Linked DNA regions of Homo sapiens: region 2 is linked to region 1. Evidence: promoter capture Hi-C in 16 types of primary human blood cells and fetal thymus (Javierre and others, 2016). All regions are on one chromosome and are shown on one strand. The core of a region is centred on a gene start or on the middle of the fragment in contact, and the rest is flanking DNA. Distances in the headings are between cores, read along the strand shown.

What was found. Contacts are between HindIII fragments. The CHiCAGO score rates a contact against its expected background, and 5 or more counts as called.
Region 2: a fragment that was not itself captured here is called in contact with the fragment with the promoter of CENPU in region 1 in 1 of 17 cell types (erythroblasts); the score reaches 5.7 in erythroblasts.

The regions. Positions count from the first base shown.
Region 1 is chr4:184,732,646-184,735,345 of GRCh38, forward strand. CENPU (centromere protein U) reads right to left here and starts at 1,451. Exons shown (of 13, transcript NM_024629.4): 1 at 1,371-1,451. The coding sequence starts at 1,417. RefSeq lists enhancers at 891-1,757, 908-1,027 and a silencer at 1,398-1,457. The HindIII fragment of the contact is 4,927 bases long and covers 1-2,700 here.
Region 2 is chr4:184,627,130-184,629,829 of GRCh38, forward strand. It overlaps CASP3 (caspase 3), which reads right to left. Exons shown (of 8, transcript NM_004346.4): 8 at 567-2,372. The coding sequence ends at 2,143. Among named protein-coding and RNA genes, the nearest start is that of LINC02365, 3.6 kb to the left of the region's middle. The HindIII fragment of the contact is 1,803 bases long and covers 485-2,287 here.

The DNA of each region.
Region 1 (2,700 bases), core at 201-2,700:
CTTGCCTTACGCTGGAGTCAAGGTGGGGCTTCTGAGAGACAGAAACCTCTGTGACAACCCACAGGTAAAATTTCTGGGCCAGGCGCGGTGGCTCATGCCTGTAATCTCAGCGCTTTGGGAACCCCAGGAGGGCGGATCACGAGGTGAGGAAATCAAGACCATCCTGGCCAACATGGTGAAACCCCGTCTTTACTAAAAATACAAAAATTAGCTGGACGTGGGGGCGAGCGCCTGTAATCCCAGCTCCTCTGGAGTCTGAGGCAGGAAAATCGCTTGAACCTGGGAGGCGGAGATTGCGCCACTGCACTCCAGCCTGGGCCACAGAGTGAGACTCCGTCTCAAAAAAAAAAAAAAAAAAAAATTCTGTTGTATGTGCGTAAGTGTGTTTTGGGAGGAGGCATGAACAGATTTCATGAGTCTCAAACCCAAAAATGTTAAAAGATAAAAATAAAAAAAGACAACAAAAACCACTAGCCTTTCAGATAAACTCTTTTCAGCTGACATTGAAGGCTGACATTCTCTTCTAATCCTTTTTTGCACTGGGGGAGTCTTCATTCTCCTCCACTGGCCACAGAAGTCTGGTCTCGGTTTCCCCACCCACCTGCGGTGTCCTGCTCCAGCTTTTCCACCCTAACCCCGCATCTACCAGCACCTCCTCCTCCAGGCAGCCTTCCCAGGCCCGGGGGAACTCCTGTTCTCTTCAGATCGTCTTGGCGTATGGCTTTGTGCACCGTCTGCAGCAAGCCGAGACCCTTCCCGCCAGATCCAGGCCGGGCCTTGGATGGCCATTCGCCAACGAATCAGCGACCAGCATTCTAGAGCGCGTTTTGCAACCGACCAAACGCTCGCTTTCTTTGGTAAACAAAAACCGCTCGAGCCATCCTGGAGAACCGCAAGCGGCAGCTCGGTCCCCCAGCCGGATTTATGCTCCAGTTTACGGTCTGTGGTTTGCAGTAAGAAAACACCAGGGTCTTCAAAATAAGAAAACTGATTCCCAGTCAGAGAATAAAACTCCACTAACAAAGTCTGGCAAACCGCAGGCAATACGTATTTGCTGAATATTTTGCTTTCAAGCTAGCACTTTGAGACTCACTACTTTGGACGGCACTCCCCCTCCCCACAAAACGACACGACACTGGCTGACGTCTCTCCCACCCGCCAGGCAGTGTTAGGCCCCGACAGGCCCGTGCAGGTGGGATCACTGTTATCCCCACTAGACTGAGGAGGAAGCCGGGGACCCGGGCGATTGGCCACTCGGGCGACCTCCACAGTGGAGCACCAACAGCGCCGGGAGGCGCAAACCACGGCAGGCGAGGAAGCAGTTCAAGCTGGTCTCCGGCCCCGCGCTCCCGAGGGTCGGCAGTACTTACCCCTCAGACCTGTGAGGCCGCGGCCGCCGCCGCCCCCGCGGGGCCATGGTGCCGCTCTCCGCTCTCGAGCGACTGGAAGCTCCCGCCAAGCCCCTCGCCGCTCCGAACAGCCAATCCGGGCCGAGCACGCGCGCGTGCGCAGGACTTCCTGAGCGGCCCCCGGGCTCCTCCCTGGCCTGGAGCGTGAGGGAAAACTGGGTCTGGTTATTACAGCGCAACGGAGCTGGAGTCCATGCCGCACAACCAGTTACCTACGGTCCAAAACATGCCAAAGTTTTCCGGGCTTTCGCGCCCACCCGCATCGCCAGTTTTCCGGCGCCAGAAAGCCCGGGAGCCACGTGGGACGGCCCCTTGTGGGGTGGGGAAAGGGGAGGAGCTAGTGTCCCTGAGTCGTGGGCAGGTAAGAGGGTGGGTGGAGACCCGTGTTCGCAGCTGTTGTCGCTGAGGCCGCAGTCGTCTTTCCAGGCCTACAGGATTTGGCTTCCAGCCCCTGCTGCCTTTATCAGCTGTCTGAGCTTAGCATGTTACTTTACCGCTATCCCAATACCTTCATTTGTAAATGGACAGGGTTCCTTTTGTTCTTTTATTTTGTTTGTGTTTAAAAATGTGTAATGCAGAAGAATGTAATTGAACCCTTACCTTACACCGCGTATAAAAATTAACGCAAAATGAATCAAAGACCTAACTATAAAGGCTAAAATTAAAACTCTTAGAAGAAAACAGAGCAAAAACTTCATAACATTGGACTTGGTATGATTTCTTGGATATGATACCAAAAGCAGTTTGGGATGATGAAAACGTTCTGGAAATAGTGGTGGATGGATGCACAAGGTGAAGGTACTTAATGCCACAATACTGTAAAGTTAAAAACGGTTAAAATGCTAAATTTTGTTATGTATATTTTACTACGACAAAAATATTACGTTTCATGCATATGAAAGAATATAACGTGTAATGTAAAGATAAAAACAAACATCCGTGTAACCAGCACTACATGGGGATATGGATCATTTTTATATATAACTCTTGGGTACCCCTCTGAATGGTATCCTCCTCCTCCAAAGAATAACCACTCTTCTGATTTTATGTGTATCATTCCTGTGGTTTTCTACCTTGATATAGCCCCAAATAATGTATTGATTATTGTATGTTTCTAAACTTTATATGATATTTGGTAGGTATGCTGCAAGTGCCCTTTCTTACTAAAGCTATTGCTTTTATTTTTTATTTATTTTATTTTTCCATAAATTATTGGGGTGCAGGTGCTATTTGGTTACATGAGTAAGTTCTTTTTTTTTTTTTTTTTTTTTTTTTGAGTTGGAGTTTTGCT
Region 2 (2,700 bases), core at 136-2,635, 110 kb before region 1:
CTACTCCTCAGAAACAGAAGTCTCCTTTTCCTAGTTAGGACAATTTATTTTGTTTCTGATTTAAAAGTAATATATTTTCATTACAGAAATATTGGAAGAAATTTAAAACCACCCACAACCCCACTTTCCTATATTCCTTTTCTAAGCATATGAAGTAAAAAGACAGCAAATTCCTCTGTCAAAATCCCAGCGCCCAGAGGAGGCCATCAGTAAACATCAACGGCTTGTTGTATATCCTCTTAGGTTGTTCTTCCCATTAGACACTTATCTTGTGGAAAAAGTTTCAAATTCACACATATGGTCATATTTAAGGCCTGAGATCTATGCAAACAAAGTATCTTCCTGGCATTGTGGTCATTTCAGGGTCAGGAACTTCTGCGAGGACTTGGGAAGCATAAGCGATCTGTCTGCCCTGATCTAACTGCCACCACCTCAAAAAACTAGGCTAGGGTTCTGGTGCTTCCTCTTTGACTCTTCCAAATCAAGCTTCTGATTAAAAACATTTTAACTTCCAATTAGTGGCACAACATCAAAAACAACAGCAACAAAAAACTCAAAGACATTGGTAATTTTAAGTTTGAATGTATATTTTGAAATAAAAATGGAAAATAACAAATTTGTACAAAATTGTCACATAGAAACACACTTTAAGATACCATTACATGCTATGTGTATTTACAAAAGTTACAGGTCTAGTAAGAAAAAAGAAACTGTCATTGACAAATGCGAGCTCATTTTTTGAGCAACAAGAAATCTCCCGTGAAATGTCATACTGACAGCCAGTGAGACTTGGTGCAGTGACGGCTCCGCACCTGCTGAGGCCTGGAGCCTGCCTCCCGGGCTGAGGGCTCAGCTCTGGCCTCCGGCTGGATGCCGTCTAGAGTCCTATGTGCTCATAGGTCTTTTTCTTTCAGTAAACAGTATAAAACATTACTATTTTCCTTTGATTGTAAACTTCAACAGAAAATAACATACTTAAGAATTTTGCTACAAAGAGTACTATGATTTTTATTGCCTCACCACCTTTAGAACATTTCCACTTCACAAGTTTCTGATTTGCTTCACTTTCTTACTTGGCGATGGCGCCCTGGCAGCATCATCCACACATACCAGTGCGTATGGAGAAATGGGCTGTAGGCCCTTCCTGCGTGGTCCATGGCTCTGCCTTCATGGAACAGGCTGAGTCATGTCTCTGCTCAGGCTCAAACCATCTACTCTCAAGTTACAGGCAGCTCAGCCCATTCATTTATTGCTTTCCTTATATTCCACTGTTTATTATTTAAGTTGTATTTTCATATGTTCCTATAGAATTTATTCACATTACCTGGCTAATAATCAACAGTTTGGGGTTTTTATATAATAGCTCTTCAGATATATTGCTGGTATATGAAGCTCAACTGATATGCATAGGGACAAATCAGAAGATATTTATGCTGGTAGATCCAGGGGCATTGTAGCACCTTACAGTTAAAACTCCACCCCTCTATGAATGTTAAGTTTTAGCCTTAAAAGTCAAGTTAGTTTGCTCACACTTTCTCTCACATAAAATATTAGTTTCTTTCTCAATATTAAACATTATTATTATTTTTTTACAACAAAAGTGTTCAGGACAAACATCACAAAACCATAATCCCAGATAAATGGTCTAAAAATGCAGTTAAGTCATCCGTGTATATCAATTCTAAAATAAAGGTTTGAGCCTTTGACCATGCCCACAGATGCCTAAGTTCTTCCACATCATCATTTCTACAGTTTGACAAAACTAGAATACACAGTCTTAAGTGGGGGGAATATCATAAAAATTCATTACTTCAATGTTTAACTTTTTCACAATTACTTGAAAATTCATAGCACAGCATCACTGTAACTTGCTAATCATGAAAGCTGTAAATTAACAATCATTGCCTCTCATAATGACTGCACCAGTATCCATTTTTATTTATTCCTAATTTAATTCAATTGCAACTACCTGACTGGAAGTTTGAGGTAGCTTCATAGTGGTTCTATTTGATGGAAGGAGTATGTCTTAAAGTACCCTCTGCAGCATGAGAGTAGGTCAAAATGAGAGGGAAATACAGTACCAAATATACCATCTTCTCACTTGGCATACAAACTAAAAAAAACCACCAACCAACCATTTCTTTAGTGATAAAAATAGAGTTCTTTTGTGAGCATGGAAACAATACATGGAATCTGTTTCTTTGCATGAAAAGTAGCGTCAAAGGAAAAGGACTCAAATTCTGTTGCCACCTTTCGGTTAACCCGGGTAAGAATGTGCATAAATTCAAGCTTGTCGGCATACTGTTTCAGCATGGCACAAAGCGACTGGATGAACCAGGAGCCATCCTTTGAATTTCGCCAAGAATAATAACCTAAAAGGCAAAATACAAGCAAAATACCATGGATAGCTGATTTTAGTTGATTCTATAAATTATTATGTAGTCATAAAGGCAAAAATAAGCATAAACTTACATAAGTCTTATTAGTCATACAAATAAAAAAAAAAAGACACCTTTGGTTTCAGAAGAAATGATGCTGAAGGACGAATGTGTGCTATGCGTACACCCCCTGCTTTCAGCAAAGCTGGCCGGGGACCAGCTTCACGAACACTGAATTATTGAAAGTTTTACTTTCTGGACTCCCCTTTCAATAGGCAAGAAGAGCAAACACGCAGAAGGTAAGATGCAAAAGTAAAGATGT